Linked DNA regions of Homo sapiens: all the other regions are linked to region 1. The links are contacts of gene promoters, found by promoter capture Hi-C in blood cells and fetal thymus (Javierre and others, 2016). All regions are on one chromosome and are shown on one strand. Each heading gives the region's core, a stretch centred on a gene start or on the middle of the fragment in contact. The rest is flanking DNA. Distances are from core to core; before and after follow the strand shown.

Evidence for each region. The method cuts DNA at HindIII sites, captures the fragments that hold promoters and counts their contacts. A CHiCAGO score of 5 or more calls a contact.
Region 2: a fragment that was not itself captured here is called in contact with the fragment with the promoter of CDK17 in region 1 in 1 of 17 cell types (neutrophils); the score reaches 6.3 in neutrophils.
Region 3: a fragment that was not itself captured here is called in contact with the fragment with the promoter of CDK17 in region 1 in 3 of 17 cell types (fetal thymus, monocytes and naive CD4 T cells); the score reaches 6.7 in fetal thymus.

The regions. Positions count from the first base shown.
Region 1 is chr12:96,399,127-96,401,826 of GRCh38, forward strand. It overlaps CDK17 (cyclin dependent kinase 17), which reads right to left and starts at 1,313. Exons shown (of 17, transcript NM_002595.5): 1 at 860-1,313. RefSeq lists silencers at 717-876, 1,057-1,236, 1,327-1,656 and an enhancer at 2,077-2,296. The HindIII fragment of the contact is 3,343 bases long and covers 1-2,700 here.
Region 2 is chr12:95,870,744-95,873,443 of GRCh38, forward strand. CCDC38 (coiled-coil domain containing 38) reads right to left here. Exons shown (of 16, transcript NM_182496.3): 14 at 1,512-1,717. Among named protein-coding and RNA genes, the nearest start is that of SNRPF, 13 kb to the left of the region's middle. The HindIII fragment of the contact is 2,748 bases long and covers 1-2,700 here.
Region 3 is chr12:95,852,883-95,855,582 of GRCh38, forward strand. All of the region lies in intron 1 of SNRPF-DT (SNRPF divergent transcript), which reads right to left. Among named protein-coding and RNA genes, the nearest start is that of SNRPF-DT, 4.6 kb to the right of the region's middle. The HindIII fragment of the contact is 1,573 bases long and covers 574-2,146 here.

The DNA.
Region 1 (2,700 bases), core at 63-2,562:
GAGGGAAAAACCACAGGAGAGTCAATGTGGCAGTGTGGGGGTGACAGGAGGGAGGGAATCTGGAGCTATCCAGCTGAGTTGGGGAGCAAAAGCATCGGGCATAGCATCGGGCACAAAAATGCTGAGAAAAGCAACTGCGACGGAGACAGCACTAGGCACCCTCCTCCCCCCATTTTCCCCTCCCCATCGGTTTGCTGGGTTTCCCACCTTCCCTCTACCTCCGCTCTTGACCAACACTCCGGGGTGTGACCCGCCAGCAGGAGGCTGCCCTGATCTTTGTCTCTACCCGCTCCCACGCGCGGGCTCCTCCTCCTCCTCCGCGCTCCCCACCCGCGCACAGCGCCAGCGTCTCCAAGGAGCTGCAGGCGCCGCGACCGCCGCCTCCTCGCCCACCTCCCGCGGACCCGCGCCCCTTCCTTCCCCTCCCGGGCAGCGTCGCCTGCGCCTCCAGCTCCACCCCCGCCGAGGGGACCTTTGTGTCTCGGGGGACTTTCTGCCTCTTTCCCCTCCTCCGCCTCGCGAGGAGACCGGCCTCCCCCGCAGACCAAAGCGGCAGCGAGCACCGGAGGCGGCGGCGTCTATATCTGTCGGCGCCTCCTGGGAAGCAGCTCGCAGACACTCACACCCCACCCGAGCCCCGGAAATCCCCGGGCGACCCAAGGTCCTCGCTGGACCGGAGAGGTGACAGGCGCACGCTAGCCCCCCGCGCCGCGCCTCCTCGCTCAACTTCCCGACCGGGCCTGAGCCACCCGCGCCCCCAGTAGCCCCCGCCCCCGCCTCTGTCCCACGCAGCCTCCCGGCCCCGCGGCCGACCCGACACCAGGGGAAAGCGCGGCGCGGACGCCAGCCGCCAACTCACCAGCAAGAGCGGGGACCGCGGGTCCCGAGGCGAGGCGAAGAGAGGCGCGGGGGGAAGCTGCTCCGCGGACGCCCGCGGCGACCGGATGCAAGTCCGGGTCTCAGCGGCCGGCAGACGTGAGGCGCTTCCGAGCGCAGGCCTCCGCCGCCACAGCCGCCTTCCGGCTCTCGCCGCGGGTCCGGAGCCTCGGGAGGGGCCGCGGGTGTCTCACGCGTTGCCAAGTCCCTCGGTCAACATGGCTCCCGCGCCGACGAGCCGCGCGGACGGCCCACTAATCCCCTCGGAGCAGCCGGGCGCGAGCGCGGCGGGCGCCGACGGCGGGCTGAGACTGTCTGGCCGGGCGCTGGCTCCTTCTCCGCGGCTCTGCGGCGGCCCGCGGGGAGCTCAGGAGACTGCGGGCGGCCGCGTTCGCTCCTTGCGTGTGCGTCGCTTTCACACTCGGCGGCTGCGGATTGACGCCTCCGCCTGTTCCCCGGAGGAGAGCGAGTGCAAGAGAAAAAACACTTTTATTGAAACGATCCAACCAGCGGCGGCGGAGAAAAGCGACCGGCCGCGGGAGCTTACCCCACCCCCGCCTGAGCGGCTCGCCGGGGGCAGCGCGACCCCTGCCGGCGGCGGCGGAGGCGGGGGCGGGGCCGGCGGCCGGGGGCGGGGCCTGCAGGGCGGGGCGGGTGTCCCCGGGAAACTGCCCGCTCCGAAATGCGGGCGTCGGGGGAGCGGCGGAGGGGGCCAGGGGACCCCACCGGAATGAGTGCCTGTCCGCAGCGACTGGGGGAGAAATTATGTGAATAATTCAGCCCCTCCAACATCCCCCTGCCCCTCAACTTCCCGCTACCAAACCAAAACTCGTGCTTCAGTTATACAAGTAATTACTGTACAAGGTGTCCATGCCACAGTTCTCCACTGACTTTCTAGAGAGTCCATGTCAAAGGACCCACACTGAAAGATGTTGATGGCTGCAACTTTTCTCCTTTGTTGTGTGTGGGTACGTGGGTACTAGTGCCGCAGTCTCTCACACACACGGCATCTATTCATTTAAACTACAGTACAGTGTTTTGTATATATTATCATGTGCCCGGCAATATGCTGAGTCCTCTAAGGACGGAGAGTCTAGCTGGGATGAAAGATGATCAATAACTATCATAAAAATCTGAACGTTATGAGCGGAGAAATACAAGGTGCTATGAAAACAGAAAGGACTACTGTTGCACGGGTTAGGTTTTGTTTTCTTGGGGGAGGCGGGCCGCGAGAGGTTGGCCCAGTTTCTGCAACTGTTTTTACTTTCTCCTTTCCCAGAGGCTAAAAGCTAGTTCAGGAATGAACAGCAGAGTGGCAGTGAAGACAAACTAAAGTAATACTGACCCACTTTTTTCCACTAATAAGGATAAAAGCATAAAGTTAAAACAAACTTAAACCCCTAGAGGGAGATAATGAGAGGATTGAAAGAAGAGAGTAGGGACCGGATGTAGACAACATAAACAAGAAAAAAAAACCCACATAAAAGTCCTGTGAAGTGAGATAAATTTTTTTTCCCATGTTAACACCCGGAAGTAGAAGCTGCTTTGAAGTTTCAAATCACATTATGTGCTAAGAACTTCGGGGAATTATCTTTTTGGATTTAGGGATGAATCCTTTCCCCCTTAAAAATGCTGCATGCTGACATCTTTCTCTTATTTTGTTTGGCAAAGTTAAATGCATCTACAGTTATATCCAACGATCGTACGTGTCAATCAGGCTTTTCCCATGCCTCTAAAATTACCAGGACCCGTAAATTAGCAACAATTATGCTCTACGCGTATTTAACACTTGTTTACCAACCAAGAATGCAAATATACATAACA
Region 2 (2,700 bases), core at 97-2,596, 530 kb before region 1:
TCAGGATCACCATGATATAGTCTGGACATCATTTTTACTGTGGGTAAGCATATCCACCCTACATCCATAAAGTAGTAGGCAATAACAAAATATCTAACACTACTGGCTAATATTTGAGTACTTACTATGCGCCAAGCATGCTCTCATAATTTACTTGGATCATCTAATTTAATCCTCACAACAACCTGTATTTATCAGTATTACTCCCGTTTTACGGATAAAGAAACCGACTAGAGTGCTTATGTTGCCTAAGGTCACAAAGTCATAAATAGTTGAACTGAACTCACTCAGCATGGTCTAATCCCCAGGCTGGTAGCCTGAGTACTAGTCTGCCTCTCAACATGTTTTTTGCCATTACGTGAACATTATCCCACTTGTAAACATTCCCTACATGCCACAGTAAGCTAGGGGTCATATTTACAATAATCATTGCCTCAAACTAGGACAGTAGGCCCTCCATATTCACAGTTCCACATCTGGGCATTCAACCAACTGCAGATTGAAAATATTTGGAGAAAAGCCCCAACAATAAAAATAATACAAATTTTAAGAAATACAGTATGACAACTCTAGCATTTACACTATATTAGGTATAAGTAGTTGAGAAATGATTTAAAGTATACAGGAGGATGTACGTAGGTTATATGCAAATATGCCGTCTTATATGAGACATGAGCATCTGCAGATTTTGGTATCCTTGGGAGGTCCTGGAACCAATCCCCTACAGATACCAAGGGACAACTGTTTGTACTTAAAAGTTCTTATTTAACTTGGTATGGAAATTTGTAAGTGAACGCATTCTGAAAGGCCCCGGTCAGGCCATACCGCCCTCAATGCACAGATCTCCTTTGAAGGGCACCAAGCTATGTAAGCATGTGGGGGATGGGTTGGGGCTCCAGGGATGATAATCCTCATGAGGTTGTCTTGAGGAATAAATGAGTGAATGTTGTGTACATGTTGGCAGTTATACACTGCGGAAAACCCTCATTGTGTTGCTCAGACTTTCAAACAATTCCTTCATTAGGAATTTGGAGCCCTTCATGGGAGAACCACAGGTAGATTGAGTCTGCTTGAAGTTTTCCCATGACAGGCTCCTAATTCTATATCTTGGGTCCTTCACCACCAGTGCAATTCTCCTTCCCCATGATAGCTATTCAAAAATTTTCATGTAATTACTTATTCATAAATTTCATATAATTACAAAGATTTGCTTTTCCAGGCTAGTTTGTCCATCCCAAACTAGGTCAGTTGCCCCTGGTGAACTCTGTTCACCCAGTTCCTTCCTTCGTGGTGCTCATTACCATTGGTAATGACACATTTATTTCCTAAGAGTATTTGATGAATGATCTCCCATGCTAAATAATAGCTATATGAGGAGAGCAGGGCTGGATTTCATTCCTCCTCACTGTGTCCCTATAATATGACATTACACAAGAGACTTGCTAATGTGTTTGTGGAATCTGAGCAAAACCAGCTACTCATTAAGTCATTCTTATCCTTATTGACTGTACTTTTGCCGCCATTCTTTCTGTTTCATCCTCTCAATTGCCTCCACATTTTCTTTGGGAATGGATTCGATGAGGTCACACAGTTCTACCAGGCGAGATTCTACTTTTACCAGCTTTTGAATTGGGTTGAGGCCGTCATCCTCAGCATCTCCAATGCAGACTTTGTATACTTGAGTAATCTTTTTACTAAGTGAGTCTATCAGTATTTCCTGAGATTGAGAAGAGCAGAAAACATTAACATCACATTCCACATTCAATAAATATACCATTTTACTATATTACAGTAAAATCCCATGTATATGCTATTAAATGTTTACATTTTTATTTTTATTATTTTTTTTGAGACGGAGTCTCACTCTGTCACCCAGGCTGGAGTGCAGTGGTGCAATCTCATCTCACTGCAACCTCCGCCTCCCAGGTTCAAGCGATTCTTGTGCCTCAGCCACCCAAGTAGCTGGGACTACAGGCATGCGCCACCACGCGCAGCTAATTTTTGTATTTTTAGTGGAGCTGGGGCTTCACCGTGTTGGCCAGGCTGGTCTTGAATTCCGGACCTCAGGTGATCGAGCTGCCTCGGCCACAGGCATCAGCCACTGTGCCTGGCCTAATGTTTACTTTTTAAAATGAGAAGTTTTAATAAATCATTGAGAAAATGCAGCAGTGATATTTAACCTATATTATAATTTATAGTCAGAGCATTACTATAGAACACCTTGGATTATTTTCTTAAAATATACTGAACTCTAGATATGAAAAGTAATTATAATGGGTGGAATATTTTTTGCTTGAATGTTTTTGTATATCTGACTCCCTAAGAATTCAAATACAGGCAACAAACATTTTAAATCGTTTTTTTGCCACTCGGATGCATTTCCTTTTGGCACAATATGTAACCCAGCCCCCCTCCTTTTTTGCATGTATTACTCTGTTATAATTGCGAAACTATAATCATCCTATGTAATAGTTCTCTGCCTTATCCTTATAGTCCAGGAGAGCAGGAGCTACATCTTATGCTTAAACTTACAACTAAAACAGTGCTTTGCACATAACTACGCACTGAATAAATGTTTGCTGAATAAATGACTAAATGCATTCTCAGAAAAAAAAGTTGCAAGCAAACAGGTACCCAGGCTGGCCTACCAAAGCCTTTTTAGAAGTATCATTTTCACTGTTTTCGTTGGGAAGCCATTGC
Region 3 (2,700 bases), core at 110-2,609, 550 kb before region 1:
TTTTTTTGAGACAGAGTCCCATTCTGTCGCCCAGGCTGGAGTGCAGTGGTGCCATCTCGGCTGACTGCAGCCTCTGCCTCCTGCGTTCAAGTGATCCTTGTGTCTCAGCCTCCTGAGTAGCTGGGCTTACAGGCATGCACTACCATGCTTGGTTAATTTTTGTACTTTTAGTAGAGACGAGGTTTAGTAGAGATGGGGTTTCACCATGTTGGCCAGGCTGGTCTTGAAATCCTGGCCTCAAGTGATCCACCCACCTCGGCCTCCCAAAGTGCTGGGATTACAGGCATGCACCACACTGCCTGGCCTATACTGCTTTTTTAATATAACTCAATATATATGAACAAATTGTATGCATCCACTCATTTTCTGTCTCATCTGTTTCCCAGGTCCTTGATTGCTAGCTCCCTCCAGCTCCCTCTGCACTTAATGGCTAATAAATGTGGTTTTGGGTCTAGACTAATCTCTTATATCTTGAGTTATTAGGCAAACTAATTTTCTGGTCCATAAAGGGATTGGTCTCCCCATAAATATATAAGGTGCTACTTTTACATTGGTTTTACATTACTTAAACCAAGCTTTTGGGGATAATTAGATTTTGATTGAATATAAATGTAGGAGAACAAATATTTATCGAACTGACCAGATATTGTACTGCGTTGCATATATTATCTCATTTAATGTTCTTCATTTAATGTTAACCCTGTGAGAGTCAGGAGAGAACCCCAACTTCAGGTAGCAAGGAGTAAACCTGCTGTCTCTCCACAGGTGCTGAAAGGAGACAATGAGACTATGTGGATCAGAACAAGACAGTTTACTACACACAGCAAACAGAAGCATTGTCTTAGCCATGTCAGCCTCCCTTGCCCCCCAGGTCCCAAGAGGTGAAGTGATAGACCCAGACAGATAGATGTGCACAGTGGATTCCAGCACAGCTGAAGAATCAAAGCCAACAGCCCAGAACTTTTTGAGCAAGCAGCAGTTTAGCAAACAGCAAACAAGTAGTCCAATATTAGTTATTAGCATTAGTTATTGTAGGTCACATTGACCTACTCACGTGCCTACGTACCTCGCTACAGAAACTATTCAGTATCAGGAGGTGGATAAACACCACAAATATTGTATCCTAATAGCAGCCTTATAAGATGGGTATTGAACTGGGCATGGTGGTATACACCCATAATCCCAGCCACTTGGGAGACTGAGACAGGAGGATTGCTTGAGCCCAGGAGTTTGAGACCAGCCTGGGCAACATAGTTACAGCCCACCTCACTAAAAAAAAATTTTTTTAAGATAGGTACTATCATGATCATCCTCTTTATTGATGAGGAGATTGAAGCAGAGATAAGCTGCACATGGCAGAGTCAGGATTTGAACTCAGACAGTATTGGCTCCTACCCACAATACCAGGTTTCCTTTGTTGGGGCTCAGAAAATGATACCCCGAAGCATACTGCTACTTTGCACTAAAGCAGCAGCCTCAGAACCAAGGTCTGACCTTCTCTCTGACCTTCTCCCACCCCCCATCTCTTGCCCCTCCTCCTCTCCTGAAGCACAGGAAGAGACTTTTCTCTGAAGTTTCCTTATCTACCTAAAGATCCAATCCACTGAAGAGGAAAACAATTGTCTTCAATCTTCTTACTGAAATTTCATTAACCAAGGAAAATTAAACTCATATCACAGAGGAAAAGACTGAAAATCAAACACCATACCCACAGCCCAGATGAACTTTGTCCCAGACTATTGTCTGTTCCATGGACCCATTCATCTCTTGTAAAAATCACTTATTACTCTTCTAAAATTGCCTACATCCTGCATTCCCCTCTCCCCTATGCATAAGGGTATATAAACTTCTAGACCTTATTGGGTCTAGCACTACTAGAATTGGGCATTCGCCTTCCTGTGATGCTCCCATGCGCATAAATCAATTACGCTGTGCTTTTTCTCCTTGTTTTGGATAGATAGACCAATTGGTCTATTGTCTATTTATTTCTCAGACTCAAATATCAAACCTCAAGAGGTGAGAGAGGAGGTTCTTATGCTCCTACACCTTTGAGGTATGATTGTCTCTCTATAATGGTACAATGGGCTTTGAACCACCAAAAAGATTTGAATTCTAATCTAGGTTCAGTGTTTGTATGATCCAAAGAAGCTTATATATTTTTTAATCTTAACTTCTTCGGTAGACAGAATACCATATCTCTCAGGTTTGACAAAAAATATATAAAAAGCTTCCACCTGACAGCATTCAAATCTTGGATTTTTCCTCCTTTAAACCTATTCCGATCATACCTGTAGCTGATTCTGGCCATAATCAGAAAAAAATAAGATGTTGGAATTATGAGAATAAACAAAATAAAAAGAAGAGCTCATCAATTTCAAAAGTAACTTCCTAAATGCTATCCCTCTTCATTGACTGCATTAATATTTGTATTTCTATATATTTGTTTATTTGTACTCTACTTAACCACATTTTTGGGAGCGGCAGCATCGTATAAAGGAAAAATCTTAGGCTTTGGAGCCATTTTACCTTCCACATGGCTTTTGACAAAAATACATAATCTCTCTGAAGCTGTCTCCTCATCTCTAAAATGGGGATGATAATAATATCTACCTTGAAGTACTGTGAGGATTTAAATTAGACAAATTACATAATAAAATATCCTAGCATAACATGAAAGGCATTCAATATGTATTGGTCCCC